2 separate regions of the Homo sapiens genome follow, and region 1 is linked to region 2. Evidence: promoter capture Hi-C in human tissues and cell types (Jung and others, 2019). All regions are on one chromosome and are shown on one strand. Each heading gives the region's core, a stretch centred on a gene start or on the middle of the fragment in contact. The rest is flanking DNA. Distances are from core to core; before and after follow the strand shown.

Region 1 (6,168 bases), core at 1,012-3,511, 600 kb before region 2:
GGATTAGGAAAAATAAAACCTATGAACAAAGATTTAAAGATCTAAACCGATACAGAATTCAGTTTTGTTTGTTTTTTAAGACAGAGTTTCACTTTTTGCCCAGGCTGGAGTGCAATGGCCCTCGGCTCACTGCAACCTCCGCCTCCCAGGTTCAAGCGATTCTCCTGCCTCAGTCTCCCGTGTAGCTGGGGATTACAAGCGCATGCCACCACGCCCAGCTAATTTTTGTATTTTTAGCAGAGACGGGTTTCACCATGTTGGTCAGGCTGGTCTTGAACTCCTGACCTCAGGTGATCCACTCACCTCAGGATTACAGGTGTGAGCCACCGAGCCCGGCCCGAGTAATTCAGCTTTAAAGAAAAAAAGTAAAGCAGGAAGGAGGAAGGGGAAATCCTTATCTTTAAGATTCCACAGGTTATTAATGGAGAATGGTGATCTGCAGAGATCCTCTTCATTCACAACTCAAAAAGCGAGAACCAGCAGATACAGCAAGAGAGAAGAAGCCAAGTCCAAAGATGCAGGCTGAGATCACTATTATTAAGCATTGGGAACTAAAAGAGATGAAAGGGTCTCTTTCCTTAGAGCCTAAGGAGACCTGAGAGAGATTAGACAAATCTGCTTGAAAGCTAGAGCTGGATTACTTAATTCAAGAAAGAAATGTGACCATGTGACCCACTGTAAAGTACCTAAAAGAAGGGAACTTACTGTTATTTAGAAATTCCACAATCAATGCAAACTTTGATCAACAGTTCTTCTTGACCCCCTGTAGCTTACCTGTCCCTTTTTCTCGACATCCTGCAGCTATGTATGTACCTTGTAGAGTTAAGGACAGAAGAATATGCTTTGATCAGATTGTCCCTAACCGCATTACATAGGTTTCCCATAACAAAGAACCAGTGTGGTTTTAAAAGCAAAGTCCAGGGTTACCTGATCAAGTTAGCAGGGATCTGTGAATGCAGCCTATTAGGCATAGATTAAAGCAAAAGAATAAGGAAGAAGCAGGCTGAAACAGACTTCACTGAAGAAGCAGAGACAGAGAACTAAGGGAAGAGAAATGTGACAGAGAGACTTTCTTTTTCTTTAACTTTTCTGAGACAGAGCCTTGCTCTGTCACCCAGGCTGGAGTGCAGTGGCGCATCTCGGCTCACCGCGACCTCTGCCTCCCAGGTTCAAGTGATTCTCTTGCCTCAGCTTCCTGAGTAGCTGGGATTACAGGCGTGGCCACGCCCAGCTAAGTTTTGTATTTTTAGCAGAGACCGGGTTTCACCATGTTGGTCAGGCTGGTCTCCAACTCCTGACCTCGTGATCCGCCCACCTCGGCCTCCCAAAGTGCTGGATTTACAGGCGTGAGCCACCGTGCCCGGCCTTTTTTTTTTTTTTGAGATGGAGTCTAACACTGTCGCCTGGGCTGGAGTGCAGTGGCGCGATCTCGGCTCACTGCAACCTCTGCCTCCCTGGCTCAAGTGATTCTCCTGCCTCAGCCTCCTGAGTAGTTGGGACTATAGGCTCGTGCCACCACGCCCAGCTATTTTTTTTTGTATTTTTAGTAGAGACATGGTTTCACCATGTTGGCCAGGCTGGTTTCGAACTCCTGACCTCAAGTGATCCGCCCACCTCAGCCTCCCAAAGTGCTAGGATTACAGGCATGAGCCACTGCACTGCGCCCGACAGAGATACTTTCACATATAACTCCCCCAGCTTACCCACTACACACAGGCCCATTGTTAAAAGGGCTCCCCAATTATTATCTTCCTCATTCCTTTACCTTTAAGCAGGCTCCCTTCTAAACATATATAGGTAAGTCTAAAAACTTCCAAAAAAACCAATTCCCTAGAATCTATCCTAGTCTGCTAATTGGGTTTAGGGGGAGGTTTTTTATTCTTATTTTTTTAGAGACAGGGTCTGGCTTTGTCACCCATGCTGGAGTGCAGTGGCACAATCATAGCTCACTGCAGCCTCAAACTCCCAGGCTCAAGCGATCCTCCTGCCTCAGCCTCTTACAGTGCTGGGATTACAGGCATGAGCCACTGCACTCAACCTCTTGATTAAGAATACTTGCTGCCGGGCACGGTGGCTCACTCCTATAATCCTAGCACTTTGGGAGGCTGAGGCAGGTGGATTGCCTGAGCTCAAGAGTTCAAGACCAGCCTGGGCAACACAGTGAAACCGTCTCTACTAAAATACAAAAAAGTTAGCCAGGTGTGGCAGCACGTGCCTGTAGTCCCAGCTACTCGTGAGGCTGAGGCAGGAGAAATTGCTTCAACCCAGGAGGCAGAGGTTGCAGTGAGGTGAGATCACACCACTGCACTCCAGCCTGGGTGACACAGCGAGACTCTGTTTCCAAAAAAAAAAAAAAAAACTTGCTAACTGGCCGGGGTGCAGTGACTCACACCTGTAATCCCAGCACTTTGGGAGGCCAAGGCAGGCAGATCACTTGAGGTCAGGAGTTCAAGACTAGACCAGCCTGGCAAACATGGAGAAACCCTGTTTCTACTAAAAATACAAAAATTAGCTGGGCATGGTGGCGCGTGCCTGTAACCCCAGCTACTCAGGAAGCTGAGGCATGAGAATTGCTTGATTCTGGGAGGCGGAGGTTGCAGTGAGCCAAGATTGCACCACTGCACCCCAGCCTGGGCAACACAGCCAGACTCTATCTCAAAAAAAAAAAAAAAAAAAAAAAAAAAAAAAAAAAAAGAATACTTGTTAACTGCTTGGTACAGAAAATATTTAAAACTACTCAGATTTTAAGCTTTTTACCTATATTTGACCAACCGACATAAGGAATTAACTGTCTTTAACTGAAAGAGAGGAATTAAAACCTGTTATTCTTTTATCTGATGAGGATCTGAATGTGTATGCTTAGGAGATCTGAAGGAAAATAAAAGACAAGCTTCTTTGGAAAGAGGCCTAGAGTTCAAGCCAATTAAGGAAGAAGGCTGGGAGTTAAATTCCTACACTATACTACCTACCTACCTACACACACACACACACACACACACACACACACACACACACCCCTCCAAATCGCAAAATAGGGCACTTTTGAGAGAAATTCTCTGGTCCAGTTCTAAAAAGGGGTAACAGGTATTTTATTTGTTAGAACAAGCATAAAGCATCATATGGACAAGAGGGCTAATACAGCCCTTTAGCGACCACAATTCTCATGTAACCAGAGAGGGAGAAATTAGCATCCTAGATCATACAATAAGAATTCCTGGCCCGGCGCAGTGGCTCACGCCTGTAATCCCAGCACTTTGGGAGGCCGAGGCGGGTGGATTACGAGGTCAGGAGATCGAGACCATCCTGGCTAACACGGTGAAACTCCGTCTCTACTAAAAAATACAAAAAATTAGCCGGGAGTGGTGGCGAGCGCCTGTAGTCCCAGCCACTCCGGAGGCTGAGGCAGAAGAATGGCGTGAACCCGGGAGGCGGAGCTTGCAGTGAGCCGAGATCGTACCACTGCACTCCAGCCTGGGCGACAGAGTGAGACTCCGTCTCAAAAATAATAATAATAATAATAATAATAATAATTCCTGGCCAGGCGCGGTGGTTCAAGCCTGTAATCCTAGCACTTTGGGAGGCCGAGGCGGGCGGATCACTTGAGGTCAGGAGTTCGAAACCAGCCTGGCCAACATGGTGAAACCACGTCTCTACTAAAAATACAAAAAAAATAGCCGGGCGTGGTGGCACGCGCCTATAGTCCCAACTACGCGGGAGGCTGAGGCAAGAGAATAGCTTGAACCCGGGAGGTGGAGATTGCAGTGAGCCAAGATCGCGCCACGTGCGCACTCCAGCCTGGGTGACAGAGCAAGGCTCGGTCTCAAAAAAAAAAAAAAAAAAAAAGAATTCCTAAGGTCTAAATGGGTAGAGAAAAGGAGAACAGAATAAGGAGTCTAGAAAAAATATTCCACAATCCATGCTAACTTTATCAGGTATCCCAGAACTTTGATGGAATACTGATTATTTGACAAACCTATATAATAGGGATTAACAGGAAACCGAAGACAAAACAGTTTCCTGAAGGAATGTGGCAGGGAATCGGCAATGGAGAGTCAAACTTGGGAAACCATCAGGAGGAGTCTGTAACGACAAAACATCTGTATTCTTTTCTTACAATATGGGGCGAGTTTGGTGGTTTGGTAAATTAAAATCAGGGTATCATCCACAATGCTAAAAATAAGGGGCAACCTGAAGGGTCCTAATCCAGTACGCCTACAGGTCTGTGTATCCTAAGGAGTCCATGTGCTGCCTTCAACTTTCCACCGACTCTATGCCCTCTCCCCGGCAGGGCTTCCTACTCTAAACCAAGGCTTTAGCTCCTACACTAGGCCACACACTTATTCCAAAGGTCAGCAGAACGCTCAGTCCCCAAGAATTACCCGGAACTCTCTTTCCCCGTCTCCCACTCGGGCTGAACCCTGACTCCCGGCCCCTGTGGACACCACAGCATCTCTGCTGCCCCTCCAGCTCCTACCAAAATCAGCGCCTCCATCTTGCCCCGCAGCTGGTGCCGACGTGGAGCCGCAAAAGAAACGCCGCCGCTGATTGGCCATACGTTCCCATTAGGCCCCGCCTAGGATAAGGATCATTGGGTAAGGCTTGCTTTATTGGCCAATTATTGTACTAGCTTGCTTACCGGAAGCAAAGTGTCCAACCAGAAGGCTCAGGTGTTTGATTGTCAGCTTGAATACTCAATAAAACGCCAAAACCTCACGACTCATTGGGGCGGGAGGGTTAGTGGGGCGGGGTTGTTTCCATGGGGAACAGAAGAAGCGATTGTTAATTTTCAATTGGTAGGGCCGAGGACACGTGATATTGTCGGACTGATTTAGCGATTTTTAAACCGCACCCTCTTTAGGGGGCGCTGTGTCTCCTTAGCCTTTAACACTGGCGCTTTCTAACCGGAATCCTGCCCTAATCCCTATTTTCAGCGCCCGCATTAGGTCCATGATCTCTGTGGCTAGCCCTTCCCTCATGCTCGCTCAGGTCACTTCAGCATCCTCACAGAAAGTCTGCACAACCATAGAGTAGAGCCAAGAAAGGCCCAACATGTTAACTACATAAACCAAGGCTGCCAGGAGTTGATAGTCGCAATAACAATCTCCCTAAGGTGGAGTTCCAGGCTTTGCTGGGCCTGAGGAACATGAGAAGTCAGTTTGTAAAGGCCAACTTGAGCTCAACGTGAAATCGGCTTTGGAGATGGGGTTTGCGGGACAAACGGGGAAAGGGATGGGATTAGAATAAGAGAGGGGTTATAGGGAGTAAATTCTGGGGTTTTCCAATAGAAACAAGCCGTTGTGCCTGGGCGCGGTGGCTCAAGCCTGTAATCCCAGCACTTTGGGAGGCCGAGGCGAGCGGATCATCTGAGGTCGGGAGTTTGAAACCAACCTGACCAACATGGAGAAACCCCGTCTCTACTAAAAAAAAAAAATACAGGCCGAGCGTGATGGCTCACACCTGTAATCCCAGTACTTTGGGAGGCCGAGGCGGGCGGATCACGAGATCAGGAGATCAAGACCATCCTGACTAACATAGTGAAACCCCGTCTCTACTAAAAATACAAAAAATTAGCCGGGCGTGGGTGGCGGGCGCCTGTAGTCCCTGCTACTCTGGAGGCTGAGGCAGGACAATGGCGTGAACCCAGGAGGCGGAGTTTGCAGTGAGCTGAGATCGCGCCACTGCACTCCAACCTGGGTGACAGAGCGAGACTCCGTCTCAAAAAATATACATATATACAAAATTAGCCGGGCGTGGTGGAACATGCCTGTAATCCCAGCTACTCGGGAGGCTGAACCAGGAGACTCACTTGAACCTGGGAGGCGGAGGTTGAGGTGAGGCGAGATCTCGTCATTGCACTCCAGCCTGGGCAACAAGAGCGAAATTCCATCTCAAAAAAAAAAGAAAAGAAAAGAAAAGGAGAAGAGAAGAGAAAAGAAAAGGAGAAAGAAAGAAAAGAAAGAAAGAAAGGAAGGAAGGAAGGAAGGAAGGAAAGAAAGAAAGAAAGAAAGAAAGAAAGAAAGAAAGAAAGAAAGAGAAGGAAAGAAAGGAGAGGAAAGAAATGAGGCGTTGCAAAATGAGAAAAGAGAAGTTTACTGAATGCAAGAATTTCACAATAGGGAATGATTTTGATGAAGCTTGGCTTTCCCCTATCCCTTGGTTTCCTGATCC
Region 2 (5,821 bases), core at 2,720-5,219:
AAATCTCCCACTCTCACTCAGAAATATTCTTTGATCCCAATAACTGTAACTTCCACCTGTCTTCACAGTATTATTCCCCTTTTTCAAAAAATCTTCAGTGACTAACTTCCCATTCCTGATGGGAGTGAAGTCCAAACCTTTGTACATGATGTATTGATGAGGAAAACAGTAGCTACTATAAAAAATAAACCCATTTTAGCAGTGTAACAAAATTGAAATTGATTTATTGGTCAAGTGAAATCTGAAACACATGATCCTGATTAGTGGTCCGCTCTCTGCCACGTGATGATTCAGGGAACCAGCTTCCTTCCATCCTGTGGCTCCACTGTCTTTAACATGTGGCCTTCAGGGTCACTGTGCCTAAGGTCATCTTCATCAAGCTAGACAGGAAAAAAAATAGGAAGGAACTTTTTTGGAGGGTTTTATGGGCCAGACTTGAAAATGGAACACATTAATTAAAGGAGAAGCTTAAAAATGTGGTATAGCTAGGCCGGGCGCGGTGACTCTTGCCTGTAATCCCAGCACTTTGGGAGGCCGAAGCGGGCGGATCACGAGGTCAGGAGATCGAGACCATCCTGGCTAACACGGTGAAACCCCGTCTCTACCAAAAATACAAAAAAATTAGCCAGGTGTGGTGACGGGCACCTGTAGTCTCAGCTACTTGGGAGGCTGAGGCAGGAGAACGGCATGAACCTGGGAGGCGGAGCTTGCAGTGAGCTGAGATGGCGCCACTGCACTCCAGCCTGGGCGACAGAGCAAGACTCCGTCTCAAAAAAATAAAAAAATAAAAAATAAAAATAAAAAAATAAAAAAATGTGGTACAGCTGTGTGTCCAAGAAAAAGAAAGAAACAGGTTCTGATAAACACATAGGCTCTGGCTCACTTGACATTCAAAACTCTCTATACTCTGGCTTAAGTCTGTCTTTCCAATTTTATCTTCCATTATCCAATTATCCAACTGTAGCTTCTTTTTGTTGTTGTTGTTGTTGTTGTTGTTGTTTGTTTTGTTTTTTGAGACAGAGTGTCACTCTGTTGCCCAGGCTGGAGAACAGTGGTACCATTCTGGCTCACTGCAACCTCTGCCTCCTGGGTTCAAGCGATTCTCCTGCCTCAGCCTCCCAAGTAGCCGGGATTACAGGCACGCGCCACCATACCTGGCTAATTTTTGTATTTTTGGTAGAGATGGGGTTTCACCAGTTGGCCAGGCTGGTCTTGAACTCCTGACCTCAAGTGATCCGCCCACCTTGGCCTCCCAAAGTGCTGGGATTACAGGAGCAAGCTACCACGCCTGGCCTCCAACTGTAGCTTTTATTCAGCTTTGCTGCAATCACAACCTACCCCAAAATCTAAGCGACTCACAACAACCAGTGCTGGCTTCTGATTTATGTATATGCAGGTTGTGGGTAAGCAGTAGCTCAGCTCCACAGGTCTTCTCATTCCCAGGCCCAGGCAGAAGGAGCAACTCTCATGTGGATTATTCCCATTCTAGTGGCAGAGAAGAACAAGAAAGTGGAAACTCATGTGTTCAAACATGGCATGAGTCACATCTGTTCACATCCCATCAGCCAAATTATGAAACATGACAAAGCCCAAAGTCAATGACATGAGACATCTATTCCTTCTACAGGAGATACTGCAAGTCACATGGCAGTGGGCAGGAATGAGAGAGGAAATAATTTCAAACAATTAGTCCATCCACTACAACTGCCATTTTCCATCTGGAGTACATGGCAGACATTACTACCCAGCACTCTTTCCTCAGAATCCTCAACACAACATTTCAGGCAGACATTACCAATAATCTGAGTTTGCCTAAATACATAAATAAAGGTTGAAATTGATGTGCTATTATGTGACTCTAGGCTCATTATCCATTCCCACCTCCAAATCTTTGCTTTGGCCTAGAAGAAGCTTACCCTCCCCAGTCCCCATCTTGCCAAACTATCCAAATTTAATCTATCCTTCAAATACTTGAATATTTGAAAGTAATGACTATAATTAAAATAATGAATTACATTTATTATTTTAAAATAATGAATTACATATATTATTTTAAAATAATGAATATTTACTATTCATTCTTTCAATAAAAGTAACTGAATACCTAGCATAGTACCTGCCACATATTTGTTGAATGAATCTGTTTCACATTACTTTGTGCCTTGCACTGAGCACATAAATGCTCAGTGAACATTTGTCTCCTGTTAATGAACCAGCACTGTTCCTTAGAACAATGGGAGTTAGTATCACATGCCAGAGTTTCTGGACTGGGAGTATGGTGACTGCTTGTGCTTAAATCTTGATTCTGCCACTCACTAGCTGGATGACTCCAGGCAAGTCATTAATTGTGCCTCAATCTCATCATGTGTAAAATGGGGATAATAACAAGGCGTATTACATAAGCCTGTTGTATTAAATGGGAAAATTCTTAGCATAGTTTGAACAGATCATAAGCACCCAAGAAATGGAAGTTGTTACCATTTTTAGCTCCGAGACTGTTTTCTCGTAGACCTTTATTTTGGGCGGAAGACAAGAGCCAAGAACTCTTGAGACTTGGGTCCTTGAACAGACCTCACTCTTAACCCACTCCAGACCTTGAGCTACCTCCTCATCCAGAAACTGGTTCCCTAACTCATAAATCCTGACTAATGACACAGACACATCACCTTAATGTTTGTGCAGCCCAGTAACTAATTTTTAAGTGCCTGGAGATCTTCAGATGAAAGACACTGAGGGCAGACACCGCATTCAGTCATAAAAGCAAAACACTACCAAAAAACTTGGAAAAGGCAGAAGCTCCATAACTTAGTGCAGTAGAGAATTAAAGCAGGCACCTAGGAAGAGGAAATCAATCCTTAAGACTGTAATCCTTTAATGCAGAGCCAGAGAAAGAGGTAATTCTGAATGCCTCCGACTACAGGGATGGAGAATAGCGAGAGGGGGGACAGGATGCCCAAGTCTATAACGTGACTTGGGGTGTGGGAGACGTGTCAATCTTTCACCTCTCCTAAATAAAAACCGGAACGTCAACATGTATTGTTATCCTAATTAATTTAAGCCACTTAAAAGGCTTGGGCAAACAGGCCCCATAAGTGGCTTGTTTGTGAATTGTGACAGGTCCTGAATTATGCCAAGCTCCCTTTTCAATTTCATTCTTCTCATTCCACCGCTCCTACCACCACCTCAGTCAATTGTATCCTCTTCCTAGACCCAGAAGCCACTCTGGGGGAGCCCAGTCCAGATGTGGATATGGTCAGGCCCCTTAGCACTGAAATCCTCAAGTTGGAAAAAAATGGTCAGCTGTGCAGAAGACATCATTCTTACAAGGTCTGTCCCTGAGATTGAAGTAAAGAAGAAACTGCTATACCCCAGCTATCAGTTTCCCATCCCCAAAATGGTGGGTAGCTGTGGTGTAGTGGCAAGAATATATGACGTGGAATTAGCCAAGGCTAATGCAGTTCTACATTTCATAGCTTTGACACTTCACACCGCCTCCTTAACCGTACTTCACTTTCTACATCTATAAAGCGTGCATAACGCTTAACGCCTATCTCACAGGTGGGTGCGAAAAGTACAGGACGGGACGCAACAGAAACCGCTCTGCCCACCGTTAAAGCGTTATATGGAAGGCTTTAGAGCCGTAAATCCTCCCCAGCCCCCAACAACGCACGTTACAAACCAGCAGCCACCCCTAATGCAGCCGGCCCCCTCCTAAGGGATCATGGGCCTTGAAGTCCTTTGCTGGCCACACCCTCGTTTTCTGTCATAGGAGTGAGAACTACGCCTCCCAGGATGCCGCGGTGAGGCCGCCGTCACGGACGCCCTCTTCCCCGCCCTCCTTGCGCGCAGCCTTCTGGGATGTATAGTCCTAGATCCGAGCACGCAGCGGCAAAAGGGCGCAGAAGAACCACAAACCCCAGAAGCCCTCGCGCCCACTCTTCTCCCTCCCCTCCAGAAGTCGGAGTGCTGTTTTTGTTGTTGGTGAAAGGTGAGGGGAACAGCTGATCCGTCTGTTGGGTAAGAAACTTGGCCTAATTGGGGGCGATCTTATGGGAGGGGAGGGTCACCCCACTTTCCAGTTTGGGGAAGGATAACGTAAGGGAACTGTCGAAGGGGAATACAGGAGCGTTTGGGTTGTAACCCTTTCCGTACTGGAGAAGCCACCCCCGCTGTTTGGGGAGTTCTTGGTTTCAAGGGGACTCTGATTGGGGGTGGGGGGCGCCCCCTCGTCGTCCTCTCCTTCTTCTCAATGCGTCTCTATAAAGCTGATCCCTTCAAGGGAGCTGAAATCTGCTTATTCGCTCCCAGGCAAGACGTGTCCCCTACACGTCTTCCCTCTCTCCCCTACGCAAATCCAAAGGCCTTTACGACGCTGAATCCCTGGGGAGGAAGGGGGACCTTCCAAGGTGTAGAATGTCAAGGAACTCTAGAGCCCTACAGAGTAGGGGATGGGACACCCGCTCTCCGCCCCATCATGTGAACATCTGAATCAGGCTACACACCTACATCTTAGGTGCCCAAAACTTTCTTTCGGACATGAAGAACGTTTACAGCTGTTACGGATTTTCTTTGTGGGGTGTATTTTAGGGTTCTCCAGGTATATCTTTGGGGACAATTTACCCCCACCCTTAGAAAGCTGGAAGAATTGCATTTGGAGAAAACATGGATTAGTTTCAACCAGGAATTTTTCAGGGAGATGAACATTAAAAAAAACTTTTTGTTCTACCTATTTGGGGGACAGAAGTTGCTCCTTTTTGTGTTGCTGGCTCACCTTTATCCACTGAGTTTCTGTTTTCTTTTAAAGTTCCTGTCCCCTGGACTTCAGCCTGGTGTGGGTTTGTGATGTTTGGGGGCGTGCATATGACTAGTGACAATGGCTGGTTGGACATGTCAGCTGTGAGTGACACAGGAAATAGATTAGTGGGCTGGAAAGGAGTGATGAATAAGAGGGCCATCTCACAGCCCTGGACTGAGGAGTTCTTTTGATCGTTATTATTGTTATCTGTCCTCACCCCACCCTCATATTTTCCAATTAACTCTCCCCAGCTAACTTGGAACACCCCTTCCTCTCAACCCCATCCTGTAGTGTGTCTCCAGCTACCAATACAAACAGATGGAAGGATGGAGGCTGAGGGGAGCAGAGAGAAAATGAGGAGAGAAATACTAAAGTGAAACCAGTAGGTTTCTAGTCCTGCTGCAGGCACAGTCTGGAGAGAAGAATGTTAGGTTCTTTTTGAACTATCTCCCCTTTCCTCAACGTTAAATATACATTTCCACTTCTTGGGGCCCCTTACTTCCCACTTTCTAGTCTGTTCCCTGCCCTGGGGTGGGGCTTTCCTGGCTCCAGGCCCCCACATTCCATCTCCCCACCCCCACCACGTTCCTGCTAAGCGCCTCACTCCACCCTTGAAGTTGCCGCCTCCAGAATTCTTGACTTCCTGGAATAATAAGTCAAGGGACAGAACCTGTCTTTCCTTATATCCTCCCCTTCCCTTTGTCTCTTGGATGCCAGCAGAAGCTTTCTGCTTCCCTAGAATTCATGGGGGTAGGCAGCTCAGAGAGATGAAAAGAGCTGAGAGCTCAGGAGCCTAAGGATTTGGGCTCAGTTCCCCTCGACCCCCAGCCATATTCTAGCTCTGAAAACTCAACCATTCCTTTCAGAGATTAGTTGCTGCTTTCTGATGTCATAACTCATTCCTGGATACAGCTGGGTCAACAAGCTTAGGAGTAGGTAAGGACACCTCTCTCAATGAGAGGGCCCCACACCTCAGTTGGATTTTGTATTCAAGAGCCAGGATGTGTGGGAGATGGGATGGAGAAA

Evidence for each region. Contacts are between HindIII fragments. The study calls those that stand out against the background at their distance.
Region 1: a contact is called between a fragment that was not itself captured here and the fragment with the promoter of CALCOCO1 in region 2, in 1 of the 25 tissues and cell types used here (hippocampus).

The regions. Positions count from the first base shown.
Region 1 is chr12:54,323,488-54,329,655 of GRCh38, reverse strand. COPZ1 (coat protein complex I subunit zeta 1) reads right to left here and starts at 4,525. Exons shown (of 9, transcript NM_016057.3): 1 at 4,475-4,525. The coding sequence starts at 4,492. RefSeq lists an enhancer at 1-465. The HindIII fragment of the contact is 4,502 bases long and covers 11-4,512 here.
Region 2 is chr12:53,725,600-53,731,420 of GRCh38, reverse strand. It overlaps CALCOCO1 (calcium binding and coiled-coil domain 1), which reads left to right and starts at 3,969. Exons shown (of 15, transcript NM_020898.3): 1 at 3,969-4,017. It overlaps LOC105369774 (a long non-coding RNA gene), which reads right to left and starts at 4,842. Exons shown (of 3, transcript XR_944973.3): 1 at 4,772-4,842; 2 at 1,339-1,485; 3 at 194-380. RefSeq lists enhancers at 3,817-3,876, 5,194-5,821. The HindIII fragment of the contact is 5,999 bases long and covers 1,190-5,821 here.